7 separate regions of the Homo sapiens genome follow, and regions 1, 2, 3, 4, 5 and 7 are each linked to region 6. The links are contacts of gene promoters, found by promoter capture Hi-C in blood cells and fetal thymus (Javierre and others, 2016). All regions are on one chromosome and are shown on one strand. Each heading gives the region's core, a stretch centred on a gene start or on the middle of the fragment in contact. The rest is flanking DNA. Distances are from core to core; before and after follow the strand shown.

Region 1 (2,792 bases), core at 233-2,732, 390 kb after region 6:
AAAAAATTATAGAGTGTGGTGGTGCATGCCTATAGTTTCAGCTACTCTGGAGGCCGAGGCAGGAGGATTGCTTGAGCCTGGGAGATGGAGGTTGTAGTCATCTGAGATCACATCACTGCGCTCCAGTCTGGGTGACAGAGCTAGACCCTGTCTCAAAAAATAAATAACCACATCAGTGTACTTCAGCAACCTAATAAGAAACAGTCAAACACCTTGTTTATTCTGCACCTCTTCTATGTGGAGCTGCTGCAAATAATATAATCAGCAAGAGAAACAATAGCAGCTAACATTTGTAGACTATGAGCCACTGTTCTAAATATCTTACTTCCATTACCTCATTTAATTTTCAGGACTCAGGGACAATTATTATCTCTTTCCATAAGAGGAAAATAAGGTGTAGAACGCATAAACGCTATGCAGAGATTTAAACCTAAGCAGCTTAACTCCAGAGCTCTTTCAAACTGCTACATTCCAGTCTTTCTCCGAATTCATTAAAAATAAATTACATGCAGACCCCCACAATAGGCACTGAGGTCGCTAAAAGTTTAAAAGGCATGGTTTGAACAAGTATTTGCTGTCAGCCATGTGTGAATACAAAGGCAGGTAAGACACGGTTTCTGCTCTCAAGGAGGGAGGTCAAGACAACCACTTTATAAACCTGGATATTCATTATAAGGGATAAAGATAGAGAAAGGGGGCTTGTTCATTTACACTTTTGGTATGATTAACAAGTTTACAGGTAATACCCTGGAATCATGAAAGCAAAGTTCCAGCGCTTTACAGTTATCGGAACAGTTTTGTGAAAAGTAATGGAAATCAGAAAAGTGCAAACCCGCGACGCCTACACTTTCTAACTTTTCCCTGCTGGCGGTTGTGTCTGACCCGACTGTAAAAGAAAAGCTAGATGTGGATGTGCCATATAAAAGTCCCTACAAGAAAAAACCCACTCCCTTCCCATTCACCAACCTGGATCTTAATGCGCTCCCCACTCGCGTTCTGAGCCCCGAGAGCGTCCCGCACGCTCAGTTTGGCTGAAGGTTTGTGCTTGGGGAAGGGGGCGGAGGAACAGAAGCGCACGGACCGCAGCAGGCAGCGGACCCCCAGCATCCCGCGTCCGCCCAGGCCCTCCGCGGGAGCAGCCCAGACCCCACGGTTCGAACCCCGCCTGCAGCGGCCCTCCTTTCTCAGCTGCTCCCCTTCCGCGGCCGCAGCTCTGCTCTAAGGCACTCCAGAGCCCCTCGGCTGCGCGCTTTCTCCTTCAGGACTCCCAGCTCTGTCCCCACAGAACCTCTCCGCTTCCCACTTCCCAACGGGGCGGAATGGACAGGACACTAGGCAAACGCCAGAAAGAAACCACGTGCAGTTGGCAGCTGGGGCGCCCCACTACCCGCGACAATTGTAAACCTACGAACAGAACCCGGGCCGCAACACGCGCAACCACTCCTACCACACCACGCCAACGCCGCTTACGTCATCACGCTACGGGGAAGAAGGGAGAGCATGCGTACTTGTGACCCAGGCTTAGGGAGGCGTGCGGGAGGGGGCGGGGTCAGGAGCCGAGACGGGGCGGAGCTAATGCCCTAAGGTTGTAGAGATTATCGCTGAAAGAACGTGGGAGCACATCTGAGGGTCTTCATTTCTAAAGTTTCCAGGTGAGGCTGAGAAACTGAGAGGCAAGGAGTGACTGATGGAGAGGGAAACCGTCTCCATCAGTCAACAATAGGGATCCAAGTAAGAGGAGGCTCTTAGCTGTTAACAGGATTCGCTTGAAGAGATCAGTCGTTCCTTTCCTGAGTACTCCGCAGAGAAAAATCAGACATAGCCCCAATGCGCAAGTCACAGTTGTGTGGTATCAGACAGCTAAACAGACAGTTGCATAAAAGGGCGATCAGTTTGCCTGACAGAGCCTAAGCGTGGGACGCCAGAGATGGCTTCCTGGAGAAAGTAGTCCTCTGACAGGTAAATAAAAGGAACTGGAGGGACCTTGCATATGGCAGGCAAGACGGTGGGAAGATGTTGCAGAGACTGGAGGAAACTCGAGTGTTTCCTGCCAGAATCCTCCAAGTCTCCCTCTTCCCTCTGCCCTCCAACACAGCTATCTGCATTTGTTTGACCTGGAAACAATGACCCTTTTATATATTAGGCTACGTTTTATTAAAAAAAAAATTCTGTAACTCAATGACGGTCATTAAAAGGTTTTTAATCTAATTTAAAAAGTAAAACGTTTGGCCAAGTGCGGTGGCTCACGCCTGTAATCCCAACTCTTAGGGAGGCAGAAGCAGGAGGATTGCTTCAGCCCAGGAGTTCAAGACCAGCGCTCGCCCTCGCTGTCTCTCTCCCGCTCCCTCTCACTCTCACTCTCTCTCTCTCACTTTTACCTTACTTAAAGTTGCTACTATTATTATACCCATTTTACAAATGAGAGAACTTACGCACAGAAAGGCTAGATGACCTACTTAAGGATACACATTCCCTAAGTGTGAGATTTAAACCCAGAAGTGCTGGCTCTATGCACTTAAGCAGTATGCTGTATTACATAGTGTCCCAAGGTGATCTGTTCCATCAAGGAGCTCATGCTTTAGAGATGGAGACAAGCAAGAAAAGAGACTACTGAAATATAAACCAGTAAGTGCACACATAGATGTATGAGTTGTCTGCATTTGTTTGGACTGAAAAGTCACCCTTATATATTAGGCTACCTCTTAAATTTATCCAAAAAATTATTTTTGATATTTTATCCAAATATTATATTGGATAAAATATAATACAATTATAATATATACATGTATCAC
Region 2 (2,886 bases), core at 192-2,691, 400 kb after region 6:
TATGACTCTAAAAACAGTCAATCTGAGATGCAGAGAGTAGAATGGTGATTACCAGGGTCTGGTTATGAGGAATGGGGAGATGCTGATAAAAAGGTACAAAGTTTTAGTTAGACACAAGTAAGTTCGGGTGATCTATTGTAAAAATGGTGACTACAGCTAATAATAATGTACTGTGTACTTGAAAATGGCTAAGAGAGGCTGGGCGTGGTGGCTCACGCCTGTAATCCCAGCACTTTGTGAGGCCAAGGCCGGTGAATCACTTGAGGTCAGGAGTTCTAGACCAGCCTGGCCAAGATGGTGATACCCCATCTCTACTAAAAATACAAAAATTAGCTGGGCATGGTGGCACGTGCCTGTGATTCCAGCTACTTGCAAGGCTGAGGTGGGAGAATCGCTTGAACCCAGGAGACGGAGGTTACAGTGAGCCAAGATCATGCCACTGCACTCCAGCCTGGGCGACAGAGCGAGACTCCATCTCAAAAAAAAGAGAGGAGACATTATGGATTAAAGGAAAAATAAAACACATAGCAATCAAATGTAATGCATGAATGCTTACTTGGATTATGACTTAAGTCAACAGAGAAAAGATATATTTTTTAAAGACATAAAAATAGTTCAACAGCACAGAGTATTATTTTTTGAGTTTCTCTAAGATTGATATTATTTCCTTTTTAAGTGTTTGAATATAATTCATTGTGTAGTCATGTGGGCCTAGAGCTTCCTTCATGAGAAAGTTAAATTAAATTAAATTAATTAATTATTTTAGAGACAAGGTCTTGCTATGTTCCCCATGCTGGTCTTGAACTTCTGGGCTCAAGCAATCCCCTCTCCTCAGTCTTCCAGAGTTCTGAGATTATAGGCATGGGCCACTGCACTCGGCCTATGAGACGGTTTTGAATTACAGATTTAACATGTTTAATAAATATGATGTTGTGCAGATTTTGTATTTCTTTTTCCGTCAGTTTTTGTAAGTTGTATGTTTTGAGAAATTTATCTAAGCAGCTAAATTTCTTGGCATAAAATTGTTCATATTATTCTTTCAGTGTCTGTAGGATCTGTAATGACGTCCTTTAATTCCTAATATTAGTTGATATTGAGGAATTATGCACAAAATTCTTCGCTGTTAAAGATACAATCCTAAAGAATTTATGGGTGAAATGTGATATCTAGAATTTGGTTTTAGATATTTCAGAAAAAAAATAAAACAGTATAGATGGAATAGATGAAATAGGACTGGTAAAATGTTGAAAAATATTGAAGTTGGGTAACATACACAGGAATTCATTGTACTATTCATGTTGGAGATTTTTCTATAATAAAAATGGTATGTAAAAAAGAATGGGAGAAGAGAAATTGGAGACAGGGTTTTCAAGAAGTTTTGTTGTAAGGGGAGCAGAAAAACTGAGGTGGTAACTGGTGGAAGAATGTGGTCATGAAAGCGGACTTCTTTAATATGTGAGAAATAATAGCATGTTTGTCTGGTGATAAGAAAGATCTGATTTTTCCATTAGAGCCCTTAGCATATTAATCACCATTGTTTTAAATTCCTGGTCTAATAATTCTAACATCTCTGCCATATCTGAGTCTGATTCTAATGCTTGCTCTGTCTCTTCAAACTGTGTTTTTTTTTTTGTCTTTTAGTTTATCTTGTAATTTTATTTTTTTTAATCTTTATCTTTAATTTTTTTGTTGAAAGTTGGACACAATGTAGTGGATAAAAGGAACTGAGGTAAATACATCTTTATTTTCATTTATTTATTTATTTATTTTGAGATGGAGTCTCGGTCTGTTACCCAGGCCGAAGCGCAGAGGCGTGATCTCGGCACACTGCAACCTCCGCCTCCTGGGTTCAGGTGATTCTCCAGCCTCAGTCTCCCAAGTAGCTGGAACTACAGGCACGAGCCATCACACCTGGGCTAATTTTTGTATTTTTAGTAGAGATGGGATTTCACCATGTTGGCCAGGCTGGTCTCAAACTCCTGACCTCAAGTGATCCACCCTCCTTGGCCTCCCAAAGTGCTAGGATTACAGGTGTGAGCCACCACACCCGGCCTGTAAATAAGTCTTCAGTGGGAAGTTGTATATTTATCTTATTTATCTAGTTAGAAGTTAGGCTGTGTTTACTGTTTGTTGTAGCTGTGGGAGTCAGAGGCAAAAATTTCCTCCGGTGTCCTTGTTTTTGTCTCACCTGTTATCTTTGGATTTCCCTAGAGACTTCTTGGGAGGTCTCAGAAATAACATGCAGTTATTTCTGTTGTACTCCCTTATTATCATACAGATAAGTCCTGTTGATATAGTGGTGAGGTGTGGAGAGAGAGGAAGAATTCTATAGACCTGTGATTAGGTCTTAGACTTTAGCGAGCCTGTGCTCCTGGGCTGCACCTTTCACAAGCGCTTCTCAGTTCTTTCCCGCTTTAGTTGGCAAAAAGGGGCTGGAGTTGGGTATTTTCCTTCTCCTGTGATTAGTCTCTGGTAAAATCCAGTCAGCTAGCCTCTGATAACATAGTTTCCATTGAGAGCAGGCTTTGTTAAGAAGAGCTGGACACTTTGGCATATTTCGAATGGCTATTTTTCCCCTCCTCTTGCCAGAAGCATGAGGATTTTTTTTTTGTTTTTTTTTTTTTTGCTGATCTTCACCCTGAGAACCTGGTAGGGTTCTTGGAGGTAAAACTCACGAAAGTGGAGGTAAAATCCAGTATGACTGGCCACATGCCCTGGAGTTTTTAACTTTCAAACTTGTCCACACAGAGCCTCCAGCAATTCATCTATTATAGTTTGGGTTTTTCGTTCCCCAGTACTCGTTCTTGCAGAGTTTTCTGCCCCTGGGCTTCTATTCCAGTAAGTTGTGATTCTCTGTATTTACCCATTTGTCTCTCCAGTTTGGGG
Region 3 (2,711 bases), core at 197-2,696, 330 kb after region 6:
CAATCTTCTTGCCTTACTCTCCCAAGTAGCTAGGACTACAGGCACATGCCACCATGCTTGGTTTTTGGTTTTTTTGTTTGTTTGTTTGTAGAGACTAGGTCCCACTATGTTGCCTAGGATGGTCTTGAACTAGTGGCTTCAAGTGATCCTCCTGCCTCAGCCTCTCAAAGTGTTGAGATTGCAGGCTTAAGCCACTGCGCCAGGCCTGTGTCATCTTTAAAGAAGGTATAAGAAAAGCCCGGGGCCGGGCGCGGTGGCTCACGCCTGTAATCCCAGCACTTTGGGAGGCCGAGGCGAGCGGATCACGAGGTCAGGAGATCGAGACCATCCCGGCTAAAATGGTGAAACCTCGCCTCTACTAAACATACAAAAAATTAGCCGGGCGTAGTGGCGGGTGCCTGTAGTCCCAGCTACTTGGGAGGCTGAGGCAGGAGAATGGCGTGAACCCGGGAGGCGGAGCTTGCAGTGAGCCGAGATCCCGCCACTGCACTCCAGCCTGGGCGACAGAGCGAGACTCCGTCTCAAAAAAAAAAAAAAAAAAAAGAAAAGCCCGGATACATGGTTGTAGCCTTTTTGTAGTTTTTGCAGATCACAGTTCAGAATTCAGATCTTTATTTTTCACTCACACTAACAAAGAGAATTAAAATGATAAAGGTATTTCATAGTTATTAGACAAATCAGAACATGAATGCAAAGAGGCAGCAACAATCTCCTCCCCTTTTTGTTGCCCATGCTGGAGTGCAGTGGCATAATCATAGCTTACTGCAGCCTCAATCTCCTGGGCTTAAGCGCCCTCCTGCCTTAGCATCGCAAGTAGTTTGGAATACTGGTATGTGCCACTACATCCAGCTAATTTTTTTTTTTTTTTTTTTGGTAGAGATAAGGTTTCGTGTGTTGCCCAAGCTGGTCTCAAACTTCTGGTCTCAAGTGATCCTTCCACCTCAGCCTCCCAAAGCACTGGGATTATAGGCATGAGCCACTGTGCCTGGTTGACAATCTACTCTCTAATGATGATGGTAAAATTGGTTGTGTAAGTGAAATCTCAGACAAAGAGCTTTCAGATAATGATACCTATCTAAGTGAATTTTCTCAAACATAAGAACTGTTAAGTGAAAAATACATTTCAAGTCAAAAAACAAATTCAGTACTTCCATCCAATGAGTCATTCCACAAGAAGGATTTCATTATGTAATAATTTATAAGAATTTGGACCATCCCATTTTCTAAAAGGATATGTGGCAATATTCCTTCATCATTTATGATATTTGTACACCAAAATTTACTTACTAAGGTTAATAAGTGAACAAATGCTGAAGCAAGTATTTTATAAAGGTGTTTAGGAAAAAAAAAGATGATGTAGAAACAGAAGAATTCATTAATTTGATCATTCTAATTGGTGTACAATCTAAAAATAAAAATGTTTTGCAATTATGGGGCAAAAAAGATGGCCACTCTTCCTTCAACAAAATTATAAGGGGACAAAATACTCAAAAGCATTTTTTTTATAATGTAAGTATAAGTTTCAGAAGTAATAATAAGTTAGAGCCTATTAAAGATGTATTAAAAATCTGGAATCAGTATTCAAAGGACAGCATATGTTCCAGGTTCATGCATGGCAGTATTCAGCAGTTTGCTGAATTCAATAGGCTATGCCCATCTGGAGTACTTTCAAAACCCAGAAAAGTGAAAATGAAAATCTGAGTTTGCCAACATCAAGGATGTGAAAAGAAAATCCACCAAACAGGGAAAAAATATTTGCAAATCATATATTTAATAAAGGACTTGTATGCAGAATATATAAAGAACTCTCAAAACTCAATAAAAAGACAATCCAATTTTAAAAATAACTCAAGGACTTACATAGACATTTCTCCAAATAAAATACATACAAATGGCCAACAGGCACATGGAAAGACGCTCCACACCTTTTCATGTGCTCATTGACTTTAATGATGAAAACCCATCATTAGTAGTCAGGGGAATGCAAGTCAAAACCATAATGAGATACTACTTTACATTTGTCAGAACAGCTACAATAAAAAGACAATAATAAGCATTTGCAAGGATGTGGAGAAACTGGAATGCTTTTGCTATTGCTGGTGGGACTGTAAAATGGTCCAGCCTCTGTGGAAAACAGACTAGCAATTCCTCACACAGTTAAACATAGTTACTGCATGACCCATTAATTTCGCTCCTAGGTATCTACCAAAGAGAAATGACAACATGTCCACACAAAAACTTCCACCCAAATGTTCACAGCAACATTACTTACAAGAGCCAAAAGTAGAAACAACCCAAATGCTCATTATCTGATAAATGAAGCAAAATATTATATGCCCATGTAATGGAATGCTATTTGGGAATAAAAAGGAATGAAGTACTGATACATGCTGCAAGTTGGATGAACTTTGAAAACATTTGCTAAATGAAATAAACCAGTCACAAAATACAATTTACTGTGTGATTCTATCTATATACGATAAATATTCCAGAATAGGTAAACTCATAGAGAGAGAACTTAATTAGTGGTTGCCCAGGGGTGGGGGCAAAGAAGAGGATAGGGAGTGAATGCTAATGGAAAAAATTTGTCTTTTGGGAGTGATAAAACCTTAAAATTATAAATATTGGAAAGTATTCTAAAATTATGTCAGTGATACTTGAATATCTTCAAAATATGCTAAAACCCACTGAATTGCACACTTCAAATTGGT
Region 4 (2,904 bases), core at 39-2,538, 280 kb after region 6:
TACAATCTTCTTTTGTTGTTGTTCTTCGAGACAAGGTCTTTCTCTGTCACCTAGGCTGGAGGGCTGTAGTCGATCATGGCTCACTGCAATTTTAAACTCCTGGGCTCAAGCAATCCTACCTTGGCCTCTTAAAGTGTTGGGATTACAGGTGTGAACTACCACACCCGGCCTATACAATCTTTGTTTATCAAGTAAGTATTGAAAAAAAAAAAAAAAAAAGAATTCTTGGCTGGGTACTGAGGCATGCTCCTCTAGTCCCAGTTACTTGGCAGGCTGAAGTGGCGGATCCCTTGAGCCTAGGAGTTCAAGATGAGCTCAGGCATCATAACGAGACCTCCATCTCTTAAATATAAAGTTCTTTAAAAGCAAAACAAACAAAAAAACCCCAGTATTTTCCAGAGTGGCTCATAAACTAAAAGGCTCCGTAAAGTTCAACTGAAAAACAAACCTGCTTCTGCAAGCACTAAATCTGAAAAAAAAAAAAAAAAAAGAAAAAAAAGAAAAAGAAAAACACACCTGTTTAGTTATGTTGCCTAAACTTATTTGATAATATAACTTCTTTTGTTGGTCATCTTTTTTTTTTTTTTTGAGATGGAGTCTCGCTGTTGCCGAGGCTGGAATGCAGTGGTGATCTCTGCTCACTGCAGACTCTGCCCCCCGGGTTCATGCCATTCTCCTGCCTCAGCCTCCTGAGTAGCTGGGACTACAGGCGCCCGCCACCTCACCCAGCTAATTTTTTGTATTTTTAGTAGAGACGGGGTTTCACCATGTTAGCCAGGATGGTCTCGATCTCCTGACCTTGTGATCCACCCGCCTCAGCCTCCCAAAGTACTGGGATTACAGGTGTGAGCCACCGCACCCAGCCTGGTCATCTTTTAATGTCATTCAGAATATATTTTGGAAAACACAGAACTAGTTGACTTTTACAGTAATATTCTTTTTTTAAAAATTCACTTTTTTTTTTTTTTTTTTGGGTAGAGACAGGGTCTCACTGTATTGCCCAGGCTGGTCTTGAACTTTGGGGCTCAAGCAATCTGCCTGCCTTGGCCTCCCAAAGTGCTGGAATTATAGGCGTGAGCCCCAACACCTGGTCTCTACAGTAATAGTCTATGATTATCTTTCTTTTTTAGAATTTTCATCTTCCTAAACGTGGGAGACTCCTTTATAACCCTTTAGTCACTGCTATTCCAAATGATAAAATTTATTTTTATTCTTAATTAATTCCGTTTTAAGTATCTCAACAAGATTCAGCAAACATCAAAATCTTAAGTCTGTGTACAAATGAGCAAATGCCATATTTTGCTAATAAGAGAATTAAGATGATTTTGAAAGATTCTTAACACAGTAAGCTAAAGACAAGAAGGAAGCATTTTCACACACACATATATACATACACACAAAATACTACCTCTGGGGTAAAGGTGAAGTTCTGGGATGCTTGCTTTAAGATCTCCACTGCTTCAGTATAAGAAATGCTGGAGGAAAACAGGATACAAGCAGAGAAAAGTCAATACAATGGAGCTGCTAACTAGTTCATTTTAAAACCAGAAAAAGCGTACTCCTATATCACACTGTGAGGTCATGAATAATCAGGAATTAAGGCTGATCTAATCCTATGAAAGAATGATCTGCCTGAAGACAAGTAACCATTCAATAACCTCAACTCCTCATCTACTTGCAATATACACAGTGAAGCTAGTCACTTAAGCAAGTAAAGATTATTCTCTGAATCCATGATATGCCAATGCCCTATTAAAAGACTACAACAGCAAAATACTTTTTCCTAAAATTCACCATTAATTCATTTATTTATCCAACAGACATATACTTGGCACCTACTAGGCACTACACACAATTCTAGGCACTGGAGATAAAAATAAAGCTCAGCCTTCATGGAGACAATGTGCGTGCGCGCATGTGTGTGTCAGAGAGAGAGAGAGCGAGAGATGCAGGTGAGGAGAGAGTAGACAGATAAATAAACAAGTAGCTATTCGTGCTATGAAGAAAAATAAAGTGGAATAAGAAGGCAGAGGGGGTTTGGGGTGCCATTTTAGATATGATGGTCAAGAAAGGCCTAAGTTTGTGACATTTGAACAGAAGCGTGCACCGAGTAAGGAAATGAACCATAGAAGTATCTTGGGAGGAGTATTCCAGGCAAAAGGAACAGCAAGTACAAGGACCTGAAGTGAGAAACAGTTTGGCTTGTTCACAGAACAAAAAGGGCAGTCAGCGTGACTAGAGCATACTGAACAAGAGGAAGAATGCACAGGAAATTACATAGGAAAGGCAGTCAGAAGTCAGATCACATGGACTCTTTCAGGTCATAGTAAGGGCCTGGTAATATATTCTAAGCATTATAAGACTATGTAGGAAAATACTGATTCTCTCCATGAGACACCCTCATGCCTAAAGTAAGTCAAAGCAAGTATTTGTTTTAATTTAACTATGTGAATAGGTAACTTGTCTACATAGTTTTAAAAAAAATCAAGATGTATAAGAGTATACATCTCCCTTCCATTGCGGTTCCAGAGAAACCTAGTTCCTTTCCTTTCACACAATCACTGTTATTGGTATTGTGAACATCCCTCTAGAGGATTTTATTTATACAGATAATGTAAATAATACACAATCTTCCTTTTTTACAGATGTCATACATAACATACACACTCTTTCACACCTAATTTTACTAATATACCTTGCAGATCTGTGTGTATATGAAGACATTCTTCACTTTTTGTATTACATAATATTCTATTTTGTGGATGTGTCATAATTAGTTAACCAGTGACCTGATATTTCACGTTCTAATCTTTTGCTATTATAAAACATGCCTATATATACCTATTTAATATTACAAAGTTATTATACACTGATTTTTCACATGCAAAAGTGGAATTATTAGAT
Region 5 (2,924 bases), core at 3-2,502, 350 kb after region 6:
TCTCTATTATGCAAAACAAAAATTTTTGCTAGGTTATTCTGCCACTGGAAGACAGTAAATAGCACAGCCAAGAAAGGGGAAACCAAGAGCTACCAAAAAAATTTTTTTAATGTGTGTATCCCAGTGAATTTCTTACCACACGGATCTAAAATCCTCCCTGTTTCTTTGAGGATTTCCAAGAAAATATTAAACAAGTATTTTGAATTGCCCTCCAGTTATTTGTTCTCACAGCAGAACAAATTTAGCTGAGCAGTTTCACAATCTCAGGAGAATTAAATAGAAAAACCCACACAAGTCCGACTCTGTCTCCATGTAAAATATATAGCAAGGAGCGAGAGTAAATAGCAGTAAGCTGAACAGTGGAAAGGAATATAATCAACAATGGAAAACTTATTTGACCTCTACAATCACTGAAACACCCAATCTATTTTTATCTCCTTTTACTTTTTCCATTTTCTACTTTGTACCCTACCCCCACCTTTTACCCAGTTCTATTTACTCATAATCCCAGAGACAAAAAGTTGGGAAGAGAATACATAAAGATGAAGCATGGTTCAGAAATTTAAAAGGTTTAAAATCATAATGGCATGCTATTGTCCTGTTTACCTCAATCTGCAATTTCCTTTGAAGATCATGAAGAAAAGGGAGAGTACTCACCATCTGTAAGCTCCATATAACCACTGAATATCCTATTTTCTTTCTTGATCCCAATTAAGAGATTAGAGGGAGGCTATGCCTTTCACGATACAGATAGTAAAGAATAAAAAAATCTAAGTTAGATAAAACTTTAATTTTTTCACGCCTGTAATCCCAGCACTTTGGGAGGCCAAGGTAGGCGCATCACCTGAGGTCAGGAGTTCGAGACCAGCCTGGTCAACATGGTGAAACCCCATCTCTACTAAAAATACAAAAATTAGCCAGGCGTGGTGGCGCACGCCTGTATTCCCAGCTACTTGGGAGGCTCAGTCATGAGAATTGCTTGACTCTGGGAGGCAGAGGTTGTTGTGAGCTGAAACTAGTACTATTGTACTCCAGCCTGAGTGACAACAGTGAAACTCCATCTCAAAAAAAAAAATTTTAATTCAACTTCCCTCTTGTAAAAGATGCTAAAGCTTAAAAATGTTAAATGTCAAATGTTAGAATAAATGTTATATACAACTACTTTTTGGTAAGATCAGTTGTAGAATCCAGGTTTCTCAGCTTCTAGTACAATCACCTTTCCAATAAGTCATGTCACTTTTTTTTTTTTTTTGAGATAAGGTCTTGCTATGTCGCCCAGGCTGGTCTTGAACTCCTGGGCTCAAGTGATCCTCTCACCTCTGCCTTCCGATGGGACTACAGGCATATACCACTGTGCCCAGCTCTCGCATTTTTTATCCTGTAGTGTTGAAATAAAGCTTTGGATTAAAATGCTTTTAATATTAGTCTCTCCTAAGTATGAAATGCTGATCATATAACATAAAACAAGCCAGGTGTAGTGGAGGGTGCCTGTAATTCCAGCTACTCGGGAGGCTGAGGCAGGAGGATCACTTGAGTCCAGGAGTTTGAGGTCAATGAGTTATGATCATACCACTGCACTCCAGCCTAGGTGAGAGAGTAAGACTCTGCCTCTAAAATCAATCAACCAACCAAGCAATCAATCATAGGAACTAAATCTGTCATACAGTCTCCAAAGATTTGTGGGTTGGTAGTTTCATGATCCCTATCAAGCTGTATCTCAAATGCAGTTGCTATCATTGCTGCAGAAATTGTTCTGCATGCCATTAGACTGCATCTCATACGTAAAAACCAAAGCCAAGGGAAACAGGCTCAATAAACTGCATTCTATTTTGCCGGTTATGTTAGTTTTGGGATTTGCCTATTAACAAGCCATATATGTAGGTCTTTCACTAATCTAAAAATTTCCAATAAGTCCAGTTTATGTTTCCATACTTTCCACTTGCTACAAATGTGTATCTTGGTGTACACAGAACTGCTAGTATAAAAATAATCTTTCTTAAAATAAGGGTTCATTTACATTCCAGAACACCCACTAACTAGAACACCCACTCAGCCCTGAGAAAGGTTTCATTTAAACAACTATTTGATCAGCAGGAAAGGAAGTTATTAAGTCAGACTGTTTGTAAACAGTGTTTTCCTGCTGAGCAGTCTGAGAAAGAATGAATCAAGAAAAGACGCGTGGAGTCTAATATTAGAGGGTAAGGTTGAGGCAAAACAGAAAGTGAATATACAATGCTGCCTTATTTTTCTTTTACAGGAGATAAACACAAATGTAAAATTGCAAAACAGCAAACTTATTCCTAAATGTAAAGGGGTCGGTGAAAAATGAACCAAACTTTTTTTCACTATTGCTTGAAAAATATTAATTTTGGCTTATTCATTGTCAGATTGGGGCTTTAAGGATGAATATGATAAGATATGGTCCTAGTCCGTTAACTAGGACTTCTGTGAGAAGGGATACCTATGCTCCAGAGTTAAGTCTCCAAACCACGTATCCACACAAAGGACTTGACTACCACTAAACACAGCAGGTACTCAATAAATACTTATAAATCCCAGCACTTCGGTGGGGTGGAGGCAGGAGGATTGCTTGAGACCAGGAGTTCAAGACCAGCCTGAGCAACATAGTGAGACCCTGACTCTACTTTAAAAATTAGCTGGGTGTGGTGGTGCGCACCTGTAGTTTTAGTAACTCTAGAGGCTGGAGTGGGTGGATCACTTGAGCTCAGGAGGTCAAGGCTGCAGACAGCCATGATCGCTGGCTCATCACTGCACTCCCAACAGGGCGACAGAGCGAGACCTTGGGTCAAAACAAACCCCCCCACAAAATATACTTTCTTGCAGTTGCTGCAAGGAGGAAGTTAAGTTATTGATAACTGGAACAGAAGGGCTTGGTTGCCCTTTACCTCTGGCTGTGGTAATCA
Region 6 (2,700 bases), core at 27-2,526:
CTGCTCTATTACCATCACAACCCATAGGGAGGAGAGAAAAGGTGCTTCCTAGACACAGGGACCCCAGAATGAGCTGCGCAAAAGGCAGGAGGAGAGAAAGGTGGGCTGGAAGAAGGAGACCACGGAATCTGGCACGGCAAGGTATTCTTTCATCTGGCGTAGACCTCCAACAACCACTACCATCCCCCAGCCCCTTCCAGAACTTTCCTTCACCTTCTCGGCTCACTCTCACGCTTCACCTTGTGCTTTTCCTCCGGCACCAGCACCCCATTTCAAACCGCTCTCTTCCTATGTCTCCTCCAAACAGTAATTTATAAACACCGTGCTTTCAAATCCATCTCATTTCATCCTCACAGTACTATAGGAGGGCTGCCTTACAGGCTGTCATTCGGAAGGGTTGGGGGGACTGGTCCTGCCAGACAATTTGCGAAGGTCGGGGCATCAAAACTTTTCTTTCCTGCCTCCCACGCCAAGCTAAACCTCTGCCTCCCCGAGTGCAGGGAGAAAAGCAAGGTCTTTGAAGTAAGGAGTCCTGAGTGGTTTTAGGCAAGTCCCTTCGCTTTTCTGAGCCTCACATTCCTCACCTGTCAACCGCTATAGTGACGCCTCTACTTTTCAGGGCGTGGGAGGTCAATGAGATCACTGGTGTGCCGCACTGAACTCGGGGATGGACTCTTTATTTCCAGTCAGTAAAGGGAGGTGTTCTATGCATCACAGGCTTTTGCCCACGCCGCCACAGCGCGGCCGGCCCAGGGCTCTCCAGAGCGGGGCAAGTTCCCTGTCATCTGTGTCTCCGCCCTTCCTTCCCCAATCTCACCCAGGCTGGCCTCATCGGCTTGTTCCGCACCCACTCCCCAGCCCTACAGCCCCCACTCCGACCTGACAAGTGCCCCACCCCCACCTAGAGATCCCGCCTCTCCTTGCCCCACCCACCAAGGACTCCTCCCACAGTCCCGACCCTCATTATCCGGGCTTTTCCGACTATCACCATCCGCCCTTGCTCTCCCAACAGCCCCGCCCCTCTAAGAGCTCTGCCCACTTCGGCTCACCTCGCTCCGAAACGCGCCCCCTCCCCCGCACCACAGGCGATGCCATCCCCATTTCACAGATGGGAATGGCGAGGCTGGGATAGATTAGTCTCATGGTAAGACAGGTGCTCAGTGGGCCCACGTACCCTCGCCGGTAGTCCCCGAGCCCCGCGACCCCGGCCGTGCCGCACCCACCTCCTGCCCTCGCTCTGCAGCCTCTCCCTCCGCGAGCGGCCAGCGCAGCTTTGCGAGGGGGGCGGAGGGTAGGAGCCCAGCCCAGGGGCGTGGCGGTCCGGGGTCTGTGCGCTGCCTTCCGGGACTGGTAGTTCTCTCTGGGCTCCTCGCAGCTCGGCGCGTCGAGAGCGAACTCCATCTCCCAGGAGGCATTGCAGCGAGTTGCTCTGCGCCCCGCCTCGTCCCCGCCGGTGTCCGGCCGGCTGGCCTTAAAGGGGACGCGGTCAGAGTGGCAGCTCGCGGGGTGGCCCCCGCTCCGGCTCCGCCCCATTTCACGCACCTCGCCCCTCCCCATGCTTCATCCCGCAGCCCCGGGGCCGCGCCGCAGAGTCGGGCTTCCTGGATACATAGAGGCTTGTGCCAGGCGGGGTGGGAAGACTGGATTTTGCAGTGGAAGCAGCATCTCTTCCGTCTGGGACCTGGCTGAGGGCGTCCCCACCCTGGGGGGAGCAGAGGACCAGCCCTGACCTAGCCGGGCCCAGCCTCGTCCTGCCCGGCCTGAGCGCCCCGCCCAGCAGCCGGCTCTGGCCCACCGGGGTCCGGGAGGTAAGGGGGTTGGGGGCGTGTGACTGTCTTTGGGGGGCGGTGTCTGCACCCTGGCCTTTCGAGAACCCTGGACTTGCGAGCCCAGGGCTGGGAGTCGGGAGATCTGGGTGCATCCTGGGCCTCCTGGGCCTCACTGTGTGACCTTGGGCGAGTAGCTATTCCTCTCTGGGCATTAATCCCCTCCCTTCATCAATTGTATGTCGAAGTGATCCTGCTCCCTCCCCTTTCAGGTAAGAGGGCATTCGCACCCAGTACCTAGTACATTCGCTTGCTGGCTTTTCGTGGGGCCCTCCAGCTCAAGCGTGGGCTGGGCGCGGGTGCACTGGAGGGAGGGAGGTGGCACAAACTGGGGGGCCCGAGGCCACCATTGCTTGGAATGGGCTTTTCCTATTCTCAGTGTGCTGGGCCCTGGGATACCCTCCCCAACCCCCTCTTACGGCCCTGGCCCTTGCAAACCGGAGACCCTGATGTGTCAGCTTGGTGCCCTTCCTTCCAGAAAGCTTGGGGTGGAGTGCGGCCCTCACAGGTTTGTGAGGGGTGGCCCCGCAGGGATAGGTGTGTGTGGTGGGTTCCTGAGGAGGAATAGCTGCTCCTGCTTTCTTCCCTTCTCTCTCCTCCTTATCCTTTGAGGAAGAGCAGCTGCTTTTTACCAGTGAAACCCTTTTTTCTTTTTCTTTCCAGGAGACAGTTTGGTGGCCCAGACATGGGCCTCCCGGAGTAGGGTGAAGCACTTCTTCCCAGGGTTGCCTTGGGTAGAAGTTCAGTTAAAAAATACCTAGAGAGATGCTGCCATTCAGACACCTGAGGGGCCAGAGATGGAGGGCACCACCTGGTGTCGGGAGGGGCAGCCTGGTACCCCCAAGGAAGCTCTGGCTCCCAGGGGAGTCAAAGG
Region 7 (2,700 bases), core at 44-2,543, 380 kb before region 6:
AAGTAACCTAAGTAAATCTTTTAAGTTCTACCTTTAATAACTACATCCTTTCCCATCTGAGTACACGGCATCACCATTCATCCAACCTTACCCTCCCCTAATCAGTCCACTTGGATAAGACTTTGAGGCCAGTATAGCAGCAATGTTACAACAACTCTTACCCTCACTACCAATTACCATGTCACATGGCTCCCATCCTGGCATTGCCTTATGACAATTAGGCAGAGGTAGCCATGGCTACTCTTGAATGAAAGAAATTTAGTTCAATATAATGTCATCACCTTGTTAACAAAAAAGCTTTTAGACTCACCTAACCCAAGAGGAGTAATTAATACTAAAACAGTTGGATGTAAAATTAGATCAATACTGGGGAGACTACTGTTCCACTAAGTTTCATTCACAGGACATTCTAGGCATTTAATTTGTATTATATTGGTTCCTTTTTATTTTTATTTTTTGGGGGGGAGATGGGTGGAGTCTCCCTCTGTTGCCCAGATTGGAGTGCAATGGCATAATCATGGCTCACTGTAATCTCTGCCTCCTGGGTTCAAGCAATTGTTGTGTGGCAGCCTCCTAGGTAGCTGGGATTACAGGTGTATCCCACCACATCCAACTAATTTGTATTTTTAATAGAGACCAGGTTTCACCATGTTGGCGAGGCTGGAAATTTGTATTATACTGGTTCTAAATGTATTTTCAAAAACAGAGATCATCATCTGATAAGACTTCCATCTTCATACACTGGAATAAAGATCAGTAAATTTTTTTCTGTAAAGGGCTAGACAGATAATAAGTTCTTCAGGTTTTGGGTTTTGTTTTTTTCTGAGACAGGGTCTTGCTGTTTCACCCAGGCTGGAGTGCAGTGGCATGATCAGCCTCAACCTCTGGGACTCAGACAATCCTCCGAAAGTGCTTGGATTGCAGTATGAGCCACCATACCCAGCCCAATACTTTAGGTTTTGAAGTTATATGTTCTCTGTGACCATCACTCAACTCTGCCACAGTTGTGTGAAAGCAGCTACAGACAACAGAATGTAAACAAATGAACATGGCTGTATACCAGTAAAACCTTATTTACAAAGATAGAGAGGACAGGCTGTAGATTGCCCACCACTGTACTAAGCTATCACAGACTAGGCTTTAACTTCAAAGTTTTAGAGCAGAACATGGTCCTATAGTAAGTTGAGGAAAACTATTAATTCCACAAACATTTACTACATATTTGCTATTACCCACCAATTGCTGGTGATAAAATAAAGTAAGAAACCCTGTCCTCAAAGAGTTTACCATCTTGTAGGCTAGGCAGTAACTGCAAAAAGTGTTATGAGTACTGTGGCATAAAATCTACAAAGTGTACGTGCAGGGTAAGGAGATTGAAGTGGTTAATTTAACTTGAGAGACAGAAAGAAGGAAATTTTCCACAGAGCATTTGATGCTTAAAGAGCAGACTAATGACGGGTACAGTGAGCAGGCAAGGGAAGGAAGATGGGGATGGTATATTCGACTCAGAGGCAGGAGGACGAAGAAAAAGCATAAATGTAAAACAACCTTTCACATCTTCAGAGATGTAAAAGCAGTTTGGCGTGATTAAAACTAGCAATGAGAACAGAAAAGCAAGGTTGAATATAAAAGGGGATAAACAGACTCAATATAACTTGGTATCAAAGAAAGTGTCAGAGGCTAAGGTCTAGGATGCCTCCTTGGTTTCTGATCTGAGTGACTTGGGTAGATGATAGTAACATTCATTTAAGAGGTAATTCAAGATTAAGAATAAATAAATAGGCTGAGCTTGGTGGCTCACGCCTGTAATCCCAGCACTTGGGGAGGCTGAGTCAGGTGGATTGCTTGAGCCCAGGAGTTTGAGACCAGCCTGGGCAACATAATGAAACTCTGTCTCTACTAAAAATACAAAAAATTTTTAGCTGGGTGTGGTGGCACATGCCTGTAGTCCCCAGCAACTTGAGAGGCTGAAATGGGAGGATCGCCTGAGTCTGGGAGGTAGAGGTTGCAGTCAGCAGAGAACAAGCCACTGCACTCCAGCCTGGGTGACAGAGTGAGACCCTGTCTATAAAAATAAGAGTACATAAATACAAGCAGAAATTCAATTTTCCTTTTAAAAAGCCTCTTTAGAAATCTAGTTTTAAATAGTTTTTTGGTGATTATCAAAGAAATGCACAATTAACATAGAAAATGAAATGTGAAAAAATATAAGAAAAACCAAAGGGAAAAAACTGTATAATCCTACTATTCAGAAAATGATTAAGATAAACATGTACAAATACTGGAGAATAAAGCTTAGAGTCTAAAATTAAATACAGACTCAACCTCCACTACGAAAGCTTTCTGGAGGAACTCTTGCTTACATGAGCCATATATACATTATATACTTCATGTTGCTCTTCAAGCAATCCTTGTTCAACTACAGGAGGCTGAAGCCTGGTCTGTCTGCTGTCAAGTTTTGCCCTCATGCTCTTCTTTCTTAAAATCAGTTTGGGCTGGATGTGGTGGCTCATGCCTGTAATCCCAGCACTTTGGGAGGCCGGGGCAGGCAGATCACTTGAGGTCAGGAGTTTTTGAGACCAGCCTGGCCAACATGGCGAAACCCCATCTCTACTAAGAATGCAAAAAAATTAGCTGGGCGTGGTGGCGGGCACCTGTAGTCCCAGCTACTCAGGAGGCTGAAGCAGGAGAATCACTTGA

Evidence for each region. The method cuts DNA at HindIII sites, captures the fragments that hold promoters and counts their contacts. A CHiCAGO score of 5 or more calls a contact.
Region 1: the fragment with the promoter of NARS2 here is called in contact with the fragment with the promoter of KCTD21 in region 6 in 17 of 17 cell types (fetal thymus, total B cells, neutrophils and 14 more); the score reaches 35.7 in fetal thymus.
Region 2: a contact is called between a fragment that was not itself captured here and the fragment with the promoter of KCTD21 in region 6, in 3 of 17 cell types (monocytes, neutrophils and naive B cells). The highest score is 7.3, in monocytes.
Region 3: a fragment that was not itself captured here is called in contact with the fragment with the promoter of KCTD21 in region 6 in 3 of 17 cell types (naive B cells, neutrophils and monocytes); the score reaches 7.2 in naive B cells.
Region 4: a contact is called between a fragment that was not itself captured here and the fragment with the promoter of KCTD21 in region 6, in 10 of 17 cell types (neutrophils, naive B cells, total CD4 T cells and 7 more). The highest score is 14.8, in neutrophils.
Region 5: a fragment that was not itself captured here is called in contact with the fragment with the promoter of KCTD21 in region 6 in 9 of 17 cell types (total B cells, naive B cells, neutrophils and 6 more); the score reaches 13.0 in total B cells.
Region 7: a contact is called between a fragment that was not itself captured here and the fragment with the promoter of KCTD21 in region 6, in 2 of 17 cell types (fetal thymus and activated CD4 T cells). The highest score is 6.5, in fetal thymus.

The regions. Positions count from the first base shown.
Region 1 is chr11:78,573,382-78,576,173 of GRCh38, forward strand. NARS2 (asparaginyl-tRNA synthetase 2, mitochondrial) reads right to left here and starts at 1,483. Exons shown (of 14, transcript NM_024678.6): 1 at 967-1,483. The coding sequence starts at 1,107. RefSeq lists enhancers at 869-978, 1,639-1,778. The HindIII fragment of the contact is 10,208 bases long and covers 1-2,792 here.
Region 2 is chr11:78,590,811-78,593,696 of GRCh38, forward strand. No RefSeq gene overlaps it. Among named protein-coding and RNA genes, the nearest start is that of NARS2, 17 kb to the left of the region's middle. The HindIII fragment of the contact is 7,888 bases long and covers 1-2,886 here.
Region 3 is chr11:78,521,267-78,523,977 of GRCh38, forward strand. The region is part of intron 6 of NARS2 (asparaginyl-tRNA synthetase 2, mitochondrial); the gene reads right to left. Among named protein-coding and RNA genes, the nearest start is that of NARS2-AS1, 11 kb to the right of the region's middle. The HindIII fragment of the contact is 7,149 bases long and covers 1-2,711 here.
Region 4 is chr11:78,467,839-78,470,742 of GRCh38, forward strand. NARS2 (asparaginyl-tRNA synthetase 2, mitochondrial) reads right to left here. Exons shown (of 14, transcript NM_024678.6): 10 at 1,409-1,475. Among named protein-coding and RNA genes, the nearest start is that of LINC02728, 39 kb to the left of the region's middle. The HindIII fragment of the contact is 4,339 bases long and covers 1-2,904 here.
Region 5 is chr11:78,540,097-78,543,020 of GRCh38, forward strand. All of the region lies in intron 5 of NARS2 (asparaginyl-tRNA synthetase 2, mitochondrial), which reads right to left. All of the region lies in intron 1 of NARS2-AS1 (NARS2 antisense RNA 1), which reads left to right. Among named protein-coding and RNA genes, the nearest start is that of NARS2-AS1, 8.4 kb to the left of the region's middle. The HindIII fragment of the contact is 285 bases long and covers 1,111-1,395 here.
Region 6 is chr11:78,187,350-78,190,049 of GRCh38, forward strand. KCTD21 (potassium channel tetramerization domain containing 21) reads right to left here and starts at 1,277. Exons shown (of 2, transcript NM_001029859.3): 1 at 1,224-1,277. It overlaps USP35 (ubiquitin specific peptidase 35), which reads left to right and starts at 1,570. Exons shown (of 11, transcript NM_020798.4): 1 at 1,570-1,808. RefSeq lists silencers at 994-1,333, 1,764-1,923. The HindIII fragment of the contact is 4,363 bases long and covers 1-2,306 here.
Region 7 is chr11:77,810,111-77,812,810 of GRCh38, forward strand. All of the region lies in intron 1 of RSF1 (remodeling and spacing factor 1), which reads right to left. Among named protein-coding and RNA genes, the nearest start is that of RSF1, 9.3 kb to the right of the region's middle. The HindIII fragment of the contact is 1,997 bases long and covers 296-2,292 here.